Linked DNA regions of Homo sapiens: all the other regions are linked to region 1. The links are contacts of gene promoters, found by promoter capture Hi-C in blood cells and fetal thymus (Javierre and others, 2016). All regions are on one chromosome and are shown on one strand. The core of a region is centred on a gene start or on the middle of the fragment in contact, and the rest is flanking DNA. Distances in the headings are between cores, read along the strand shown. Region 1 holds the start of RPS29 (ribosomal protein S29). Region 2 holds the start of DORIP1 (dopamine receptor interacting protein 1). Region 3 has its middle 4.3 kb from the start of ERO1A.

Region 1 (3,484 bases), core at 278-2,777:
CCAATAATAAATTCGTTTTCACCTTAAAAAAAAAAACCCAAACTACTATTTAAAAGATTTTCAGAAGCCAAAAGTTTCACAGTCAAAAGTTTCATATAAACACTAGCTTGACTAAGATGATCAAGAGATAGAAGCACTAAATGGCAGACCATTGTTTGCTGAATCTTAACAATGTCTTTCCGGCCCCAAACTTTAAGTTCATTCCAGTGTATGACGCTTTCAAACATTTTGGGTTGGCCGGGCGCGGTGGCTCACGCCTGTAATCTCAGCACTTTGGGAGGCCGAAGCAGGCGGATCACGAGGTCAGCAGTTCGAGACCAGCCTGACCAACATGGTAAAACCCCGTCTCTACTAAAAATAAAAAAATTAGCCGGACATGGTGGCAGGCGCCTGTAATCCCAGCTATTCAGGAGGCTGAGGCAGGAGAATCGCTTGAACCGGGGAGGCGGAGGTTGCACTGAGCGGAGATCACGCCATCGCACTCCAGGTTGGGTGAGTGCGACTCCGACTCAAAAAAAAAAAAAAAAAAACTTGGGGTCAGCGGTTAATACATATATTTGGTTAGAAAATATCTAGGTACAGCCGCGCGTGGTGGCAAGAGCCTTTAGTCCCAGCTACTCGGGACGCCAAGGCAAGAGGATCGCCTGAGACCAGGAGGAGTTCGAGGCTGCAGTGAGCCGTAACAACGCCACTGCACTTCAACCTGGGCGACAGAGGGAGACCCTATCTCTAAAAAAAAAAAAAAGAGAATAGGTACTTACAAGATTGATAAATGAAACAAATGTAAAACAATTTTAGTGGCTTCTCTAAAGTGAATTTCACCAAACACAATACACGGCACCTAAAACTGGCTAAGCTATCTAGGTAAAAAAGGGAGTAGGAAAGACTAAGTCCTTCACCTTCTCCATTCTATTAATTTGATTGCCCAAACCATCAACACTGTCACCAGCTACCAACTAAAAAAAGAGGAAAAGCTCTTGGTCGAATGCTCAGAATTACCACTCCAGGGAAGATCTGTCCGTTTGTCTTTCGCGGAAAAAATAACCCCCACAACCTTCTCTGCCCAAACAACATGGAGTACGCCTGCAGACGCCTACCTTAATGAAACCGATATCCTTCGCGTACTGACGGAAACACTGGCGGCACATATTGAGGCCATATTTCCGGATCAGACCGTGCCGGTTTGAACAGACACGACTGTAAGAAAAGAGACAGCGGTTTTGCAGGTCATAGAAATTACAAGACTCCGCACTCAGACGGCTACTACCCGCATCCCGGGACTCCCAAGCCACAGTACAGGCCTGTAATGGCGGCACCAGCGACTCCCAGTCGGCGTGCTCCCTCGTGCCGCCCGTGGCCTCCTCTACTTGAGATTTTAAGCAGCCTAGCGCTCCACGGCAACGCTTCCCCAAAATCACAAACTATTTCTCACCAAGAGCGAGAACCCTGGCCGAATTTTCGCGGGTGGCTCCAGTACAGCTGCTGGTGACCCATCTTGCTCTCAGCAGTGCAACGAGGTAAAAGGAAGAAGCTGGCCCACGCATGCGCTCTTCAAATTTTTGAGACAGTTTACCCAGAATGCAGTGCTCAAAGGAAACGCGTGCGCAGTGTGGTCAGGTTGTTTCGCTGGGTGAGTAAAATGAAATCTTAGAGGCGTTGTGGGCTGGCCCAGTTGATGACGTCACCATACCACAGCTTCTAGTGCTATTCTGCGCCGGTATCCGACCGCCGGGCGCGGTGGCGCGTGCCTGTAGTCCCAGCTACTCGGGAGGCTGAGGCTGGAGGATCGCTTGAGTCCAGGAGTTCTGGGCTGTAGTGCGCTATGCCGATCGGGTGTCCGCACTAAGTTCGGCATCAATATGGTGACCTCCCGGGAGCGGGGGACCACCAGGTTGCCTAAGGAGGGGTGAACCGGCCCAGGTCGGAAACGGAGCAGGTCAAAACTCCCGTGCTGATCAGTAGTGGGATCGCGCCTGTGAATAGCCACTGCACTCCAGCCTGGGCAACATAGCGAGACCCCGTCTCTTTTGAACAATAAATACGTTAATTTTGGACTCTCAAGAGATGAATATTCTCATAGTCTTTTTTATTGATTAAACCTTTTACTTTCTTTTAATTAAAACGTTACACTTGGGAAAGGAGTTTTTCCTCGACTCACCAGTGACACCTACTGGAATAAATTTACAAAACAACTTAAAATCAGCTGTAATGATCACGAGTCAACGGTAGGGTTTGCTTTTATTTTGTTAAAGAGAGTACGTTTTCAAATTTATTTTTTTGACACACTCCTCCAAGAAATACACCTACACCATTCCAAAAAAAAATGAGATTCTTTGGCATTTAGTGTATTTGATTCTTAAATGTAATTGGCTGAATGTAAAGTAATAAACAAGTAATGTGCAGTGTATGTTGCTTTGACCAGATAATTTGGTGACAAAACAAGTAATGAAAAGCAAATGCAAAAATGCAAAAAACCAATGTCAATAAACGAATTTCTGCTGAAAGATACCTACATTCCATATGGTCATTTATAATGCCTCCAGATAAAACTGCTCTGAAATCAAAGCTTTAACTAGATTTATAAAATGTAGCACAGGGTGCAACAATTCCAGAAACTTTTACATATAAACTTTTATAAATTGAAATACAACACTTCTTTAAGGTATGTTATGTCAGGGTTCTAGTGGGGTCCCCCTACCCAATCATTAAGTTAGGCATTGTATTATATGATTAAGGAAGGAGGGGAGTCAGAGATTTGTAAACTAGATATAACTTGCTCCTTGCCCTCAAAATTTTCTAATCTGTGGGAAACAGGATTATCTCCAAGACTTCAACATACAACGTTTGTGCACCAACAACATATGTACAGCTAAGGAAAATATTCTGTATTAAATCATGGGTGTGCTCATGAAGTACGAAAGGAGCCAAGAAGAGAAATTAATTCCAGTTCGAGGTACATTTGAGAGACCTTTGAGGTAGACCTTGAAGAATGGGATTTCTACAGGCAGCACTTGACAGAAGGGAATGCCTGGTGAAAGGAAGCGCTTGAGCCAAGGTAAGGTGAACAACTTTGTGTAACTAGAATAGAAGATGGACAAAAGGCCTAGTGATAGGAATGAAAAGGTATTTTATTTTAAAGCCTCATTGGGCAAGATCCAATGTCAAGCTTTTACAACTTTCCTATAATTTATATCAGTCACTAATGTGTGGTTTCCAAAAGCCATTTGCCTCTCAAAAGCTAATCTAACATTTGTCCACACTTTCTTAGGCCTCTTCTAGTTGGTCTCCACAATATTTAAAACATTACAGTGGTTCTGAGATCAATTCCATTAATATTTTTAGTACTCTGATATATAAGCCTTTGGGCCTAAAGAAGTGAATTCATTTAGGAGAGAAAAAAAGACAAATGAGAAGCAATTAGTTGCACTTCAACAATCTTAATCTGAATACTTAAGTAATTCTTAATACTTATTCTAGTCTATAC
Region 2 (3,484 bases), core at 402-2,901, 4.7 Mb before region 1:
AAGTGTGATGGGCATACTCATTTGATCACAGTGATGGTTTAAGGGGTTATACATATGTCAAAACTGATAAAAATTATACACTTTAAGTATGCTCTATATATTCTATGCCAATTATACTTCAGTAAATATATCTAAAAAAACCCTACAACTCAGATGTCAGATTTTGAAGACGGTGGAAAAGATGCAGAATGGAAATTTCAGTTAAAGGCCTCAGTGATGTTTGTGAGTTATCCAAGTATTCAAGGAATCCATGCTTCCTCCATCTAGCTGAGACTCGGCAGAGTTTAATGAGCAATCTCAATACTATTCTCCAGAAATGGTGTCATCCACCATACTATGGCTGTTTTCAGGAAGAGAATGACCTAATCAGTATAAAATGAACTCCATGTCTTGTGAGAGATTTATAATTAAACACATAATCCACATTTACAAACATTTTTAAAGGGCTTTTCTACCTGTAGGAGAGGATTAATATTGAGAGTGAACTTTTTGCAAGTTTTCCAACACACTAGTTTATCTCTAAGAGCCTCAGTTTCCTCATCTATAAAATACCATAAGAAATAAGAAAAAACAGGAAACTAAAAAGAGCAGGCTTTGCCAGAGCTATTAATTATTCTTTTTTGGGCAGAGCCAAAACTCAAGAAATGGAAGTCTCTCTTCCATTTCTAGACTTTTTTAGAGAGATCCATGAGGAAGTTCCCCTCCATAGCTTTGGCCGACCATCACACCGGTCAAGAAGGCATCCAGCCTCTCCCAGGCTCAGCCTGTGACGGAAAACCACACTGATTTACTAGGATAGCCTTGAGCTCTCTCATTAGCCCTCACGTGTTCTGAACGTTAGAGCTAACTTTCCAGACCCTCATTATTTGTTGAAAGGCTGGATGGGGAAAATCTCAACCAGATCTCCATGCCTACTTGCAAGGAGAGGTAGTTTTTGCAGGGTGGCCTGTGTTCTCCAGATGCAGAGCCATACAGGGCCTTGCTTCTTTACGGGAGATACAAAAACTCGGCCCTAATAAACAGAAATAGTGGTTGAGCCCACAAACTAGCATTAAGTTGTCCTAACTGTAATTTCCAGCTCCGTCACTTGCTGTGTGGGACCTTATTATCTCCAAAACCCAATTTTTTCAACTTCACAATGGAATTAAAACAATCTAATTTTTCAAAATGGGGTTAACTTCCACTGTAAGTTACAGTATATTGGCCAATAATTAACTTGAACACTAAAGCTGGCATTTAACAGATCAATTCAACTGTTTTCTAAGTAAATACTTAAACGCTTAAAAAACCGTAATTTACTGAGAAAACAAAGCTTTCTTTCTAGGTTAAGAATTTGAGAAAACAAGACCCAGAAGCAAACTAAAATCAAGTCCTAAAATGGTACAAACCTCAAAAAGCCAATCAGGTTTGCCAATAAAGCTCCGCCTCCGTGCAAACTCTGCCCACTTCCGGCTTCCCCACCCACCTTCTACCAGTGGAACCCCGCCCCTCTCTGCGAGGTCCCGCCCCCCACACCTGATCCTGGTTCCCATTGGGCGAATCTGGATGCTGTATACACAGCCGACACACGCACATTAGGCTGGGGCGTCTTCGCGCCTGCGCAGCTGCGCTGTCAGGCGGCTGAAAACGGGGGGGTTGGGGGGAGGGGGGCGGAGGTCGTGCCGAATCTTCCTCCGTAATAAGAAGCGACGTGTCCCACTGTCCTGGCTCCGTGGGTCCAGTGAGATTGGGCCTGGGCGCTGGAGCTGCTGTGGCTCCCGCCGCGGCGGCTGCCATGGAGGCCATGCCAGAGCCCAGAACTCACGCCGGGGGAGGCCGAGACAGCCGGCGGTACTCATAGATGAGGCAGCGGCGGCGGCGGCGGCGGCGGCAGCCCGGGCTCTCCATGAGCAGGCGGCGGCGGCGACGGGTGCGGCGGCACCGGCAGTTTTCGGTCCCCAGGGAGGTACGAGGAGTTTGCTTCCTGGTGGACGGAGACTGGCCGGTGTGGGAACGCCTTCCGCGGCCCGGCCCTCCAGCCTATTTGTCCGCAGTTCTGAGCACTCGGCGGGGCACTGCCCGGGCAGAGGCGGGGGCGCCCAGCCGACTCGCGGGCCCCTAACTCGGGGACCCGCCCGCCTCGGTGCCAGGCCTCCCGGGCGCGGCTGCCCAGGGCCAGGGTGGGCGTGGCCGGAACGTGGGGGCTCCCCGGGGGCGCACGCCTAGCGTCCGCCTTGTCCCTGTCCCGAAGTCCCGCGCTGCTGGGAGCGGTAGCGCGTGGCTGTACAGGCGTATTTTAGGCGCTGATTTGAGAGGGGACTTTTAGAATCCCTGAGTCCTTAGGGAGTCTGGCGTTCAATGCCTTGGGCATGTGGTGGGGTCCTCACGGCTAGCTTGGGGTACCAATTTCCTCCCTTGGAAGTCACCACGAAAGAAAGATGTTTTGTCAAAGAAATAGAGGTCAGGAGAGTTTTCCAGGTTTATTCAAATTGGAGGGCCCGTAGAGCCTGGAGAATAAAGCCAGCGGAATACATCCTCCAGTCCTTCTAATTACAGTTCCTAGCTAAACAGCTAAGACAATTTTAAGTAAAGCTCTTCACAGCTATCTTTCCATCATTTTTCCCCACCCCTCATTTTTATTGCAATTTACTTTGGAACAAATCACCAAATTCATGATGAAACTAGTATCCTCTAGTTCTTCCAAACCTTCCCTCCTCCCGTTTTTTCCAGAGAAAGACTAAAGTTTCATGCCACATATGTCATTATAGTTTAATTCTCTTAGAGTGTAAGGGTAGTTACACTTCATTTGGTCATGTCTGAAGATAATGTGAAGAAAATATCCTAGAGATTTATGCTTCCTTCCCAATGCACTATTTTAGGAATCCGAACTCAGGCTCTTTAAGCAATCTTAAACCTTGCTACAAAGTTCTTTAAAATTCAACGGAAATAAATCAAACCATAAAGTTATTTTCGTTTTTAAAGTATTTGAATGCATAACTGTTTTTTAAAATCTTTGTAAACAAAACGAATCAGTATCTATTACGAAGAAACTGAGTTTGTGTTTTCCTAGGCTGCAGATTTGCCACACCCTCTTCTTCCTAAGTGGATGACTAGAATCAATGTGTTGGCCAACTAGATATAAACATCCACTCTTCATACTAAATATAGTTACTGGATATTTTAGAGTCCACAGTATCTTGCTTCAAACTGAAAACACTGTGTTCATGTGTGTTTAATATATTGCAGAAGTGAATTTTTACTCGCGTTGCAGAATGTTTTGGACTTAGTTTCTTACACAAATAAAACACGTAGGACTGCAGCTTTATTAAGTGTTGAGTTCATGTTGTGTTTGGGAGGATGCAGCACTTGGAAAAGATGGTCAAAATAAGACACTGATCTCAGTCACTCATTTCTCTGTTTCCACTCCTCAGATGCCTCCCTTTTTTCATAACAATACTTCTCCATAAAAGTAACCTCGGAAAACAATATGATGTTGTTAGTTTAT
Region 3 (3,484 bases), core at 339-2,838, 3.1 Mb after region 1:
GACAAGCTGAGCTTGACATTTGGGATACAAAGATGTATAAGGTCCAGTTCCTACACTTGGAGAGACATCCATGGAACTTAGTATGTACTTTTTAAAAAATATTTAATTGACAAATAATAATTGTGTATATTTATAGGATACAATGGGATGTTTTGATCTATGCATACATTGTAGAAAGATTAAATAAAGCTTATTAACAGATACATTGCCTCACCAACTTTTCATTTTTCATTGATGAGAACATTAAAAAATTATTCTTTTAGCAATTTTGCAATTCTTATTAACTGTGGTCACCATGCAGTGCATTAGATCACTAAAACTTATTCCTGCAGTCTAACTGAAACTTTGCACTTTGACCAACATCTCCCCTTTCCCCATCCTCCCTGCCCACCGGCCTCTGGTGACTACCTTTCTACTGTTTCTATGAGATAAACTTTTTTAGATTCCACATGTAAGTGAGATTATGTGGTAATTGTTTTCTTGTGCCTGGCTTATTTCACTTGGTATCATGGCCTCTAGGTTAATCCATATTGTCACAAATTACAGAATTTCCTTTTTTTTTTTTTTTTTGAGACGGAGTCTCGCTCTGTCACCCAGCCTGGAGTGCAGTGGCACGATCTCGCTCACTGCAAGCTCCGCCTCCCGGGTTCACGCCATTCTCCTGCCTCAGCCTCCCAAGTAGCTGGGACTACAGGCGCGCCCGCCACCACTCCCGGCTAATTTTTTTGTATTTTTAGTAGACACGGGATTTCACCATGTTAGCCAGGATGGTCTCGATCTCCTGACCTCGTGATCCGCCCGCCTCGGCCTCCCAAAGTACTGGGAATAATTTCCTTCTTTATGGCTGTATAGTAGGCATATATATACAAGATTCTCTTTATCCATTCATCTGTCGATGAACACTTAGGTTGTTCCTATATCTTGGCTATTGTAAATAATGCAGAAATGAACATGGGAGTATAAGAAACAAATCAATGTTATGAAAATAGTCTGATTTTTAAAAAGCAGCAAAGGTTCTGAACAGTTATTTTTCAAAAAAAGACATACAAATAGCCAACAGGTATAGGAAAAAAATGCTTAATATCTCTAATCATCAGGGAAATGCAAATTAAAGACACAATGAGATGTCACCTTACACCTGTTAGAATGGCTATTGCCAAAATGATGAATGATAACAGGTGCTGGAAAGGATGTGGAAAAATGGAAACACTTGTACACTGTTGGTGGGAATGTAAATTAGTACAGCCATTTTGAAAAATAGTATGGAGGTTCCTCAAAAAACTAAAAATAGGCCGGGCACGGTGGCTCACACCTGTAATCCCAGCACTTTGGGAGGCCGAGGCAGGCAGATCATGAGGCCAGGAGATGGAGACCATCCTGGCTAACACGGTGAAACCCCGTCCCTACTAAAAATACAAAAATTAGCTGGGCGTGGCAGCACGTGCCTGTAGTCCCAGCTACTCTGGAGGCTAAGGCAGGAGAATTGCTTGCACCTGGAAGACAGAGGTTACAGTGAACCGAGATCGCGCCACTGCACTCCAGCCTGGGCAACAGAGCGAGACTCCATCTCACAAAACAAAGCAGACAAAAAAAAAACACACACACAACTAAAAATAGAATTACCATATGATCCAGCAATCCCACTTCTGGGTGTATATACAAAGGTATTAAAATTGGCGTGTCAGACTGGGCATGGTGGCTCACGCCTGACCCAGCACTTTGGGAAGCTGAGGCGGGCAGATCATTTGAGGTCAGGAGTTCAAGACCAGCCGGACCAACATGGTGAAACCCCGTCTACACTAAAAATACAAAAAATTAGCCAGGCATGGTGGTGTGTGCCTGTAGTCTCAGCTACACGGGAGGCTGAGGTGAGAGAATTTCTAGAACCTGGGAGGCGGAGGTTGCAGTGAGCTGAGATCATGCCATTGTACTCCAGCCTGGGTGACAGAGCGAGACTCTGTCTTAAAAATAAAAATAAAATTTGTATGTCAAAGAAATATCTGCACTCCCATGTTCATTTCAGCATTAGTATATAATCTTTTATGATATTTTCTACTTCATATTTCTTCACTGAATTGTAACATCTTTAAACTTCTTGAGCAGGGATTGTGTTTCAAATGTCCCTGAGACTCCCAGAGATCCTTAACAAGGATCTTGTCTTTGTACATGTTCGTGGAATAAATGAAAATCTTTCACTGGCCACAGTACTAATAAATGAAGATTAGGCCATCAAAAATGAGAAACACAATAAGAAAAGAGGAAATTAATAAAGCCTATGATTTTAGAAGGAAGCAATCTGAATATGAATCAGCTTAACATTTTACCCTAATGCAATGACCTGTAACCTGGGGGAGCTTAAAAATGTCAGTGTTCTCATGATAGAAATTATTTTCCATAAAACTCAAACTCTTTCCCAGAATAAATTTCTAGCAAACTTAGAAAAAGTATCCACTTTTTTTACCTTATTGTCTAGATAATTATAATGTTTTGTTTCAGATTTGTAAGCGATTTTAGAATAAGTAAATACAGTTTTATGTGTGTGATGTGAATATCACTGAAGTGTCCATGAGAATCTTTCAGGCCAGAAGGAAACTCCCTTTGCATGAGTTTGCTTCTTCAAATATACCTGCTCAGGCAATCGTCTCACCTGTGTTAGAGGCCATGAAATCACTGATTAGTCATTCATTAACTATTTAAAGAGCACCCACAGGGTACATAGATCAACCTTTGATTTCTGAAAGCCCAACTTCCCATTCATTACAACTTTGCTAAACAACATTAAATTTTTTAGAGATGAACAAGGTCACAAACTTGTTTTTCTAATACTAGTGATTATAACAATAACATGACTTAGATTTAATGCACACAGCATTTCCTGATGGAATTCTGATTACTGTGTAAATAACAGCGACTATTTTTTTTTTTATGACCAAAGCAGGAAATGGCTTGAGTCCAGTGTCTCAAAATGGTATGTGGGGATTTCTGTGGGAAGCTTCTCAGTACCCATACAATTTCTGTCATTGAATAGACTGGAAGAAAACAATTTAAAGGAAATAAATTAGTACAAAGAAAGGCTAAGTAAAAACCTAATGGGTTTAGTGCTGATATTTTTATTAGAATCATTCCTGTCATTAATATTTACTGAATATGGTTGCACACGTGGTACATTACTAGACATTTGTCTCAAGGTGCTTAGAATCATCTGAAGGGGGAAGACATGACACGTAACATCTTCACCTTCTTTACCTCAAATTCCTGAAAGCAAGCTGTATGCAGTCACTGACTTCACTTATCATTCACTCCTCAACTTCCCACTCACATTTTAACCCATGATGCAGTCTGGTTTCCAGCTCTACTCCCCTGAAACTCCTCTTTACATGGCCTTCCTATTGCCCAACCCAATGACCAATTTTCATGAAATCTCTGCTGCATTCTGACAATGCTGATTCCTCTCTCCTTCAATTCGATTTCCTGCACTCCAGCC

Evidence for each region. The method cuts DNA at HindIII sites, captures the fragments that hold promoters and counts their contacts. A CHiCAGO score of 5 or more calls a contact.
Region 2: a contact is called between the fragment with the promoter of DORIP1 here and the fragment with the promoter of RPS29 in region 1, in 2 of 17 cell types (naive CD4 T cells and M0 macrophages). The highest score is 8.4, in naive CD4 T cells.
Region 3: a contact is called between a fragment that was not itself captured here and the fragment with the promoter of RPS29 in region 1, in 1 of 17 cell types (M2 macrophages). The highest score is 6.2, in M2 macrophages.

The regions. Positions count from the first base shown.
Region 1 is chr14:49,584,853-49,588,336 of GRCh38, forward strand. It overlaps RPS29 (ribosomal protein S29), which reads right to left and starts at 1,528. Exons shown (of 3, transcript NM_001032.5): 1 at 1,433-1,528; 2 at 1,098-1,197. The coding sequence starts at 1,494. It also overlaps RN7SL1. RefSeq lists enhancers at 559-608, 1,207-1,706, 1,579-2,088. The HindIII fragment of the contact is 6,928 bases long and covers 1-2,564 here.
Region 2 is chr14:44,895,624-44,899,107 of GRCh38, forward strand. DORIP1 (dopamine receptor interacting protein 1) reads left to right here and starts at 1,652. Exons shown (of 5, transcript NM_001017923.2): 1 at 1,652-1,945. It overlaps LOC101927418 (a long non-coding RNA gene), which reads right to left. Exons shown (of 3, transcript NR_110050.1): 3 at 3,285-3,453. RefSeq lists enhancers at 1,297-1,346, 1,971-2,470 and silencers at 1,837-1,966, 1,987-2,306. The HindIII fragment of the contact is 3,873 bases long and covers 1,311-3,484 here.
Region 3 is chr14:52,698,117-52,701,600 of GRCh38, forward strand. No RefSeq gene overlaps it. Among named protein-coding and RNA genes, the nearest start is that of ERO1A, 4.3 kb to the left of the region's middle. The HindIII fragment of the contact is 2,803 bases long and covers 188-2,990 here.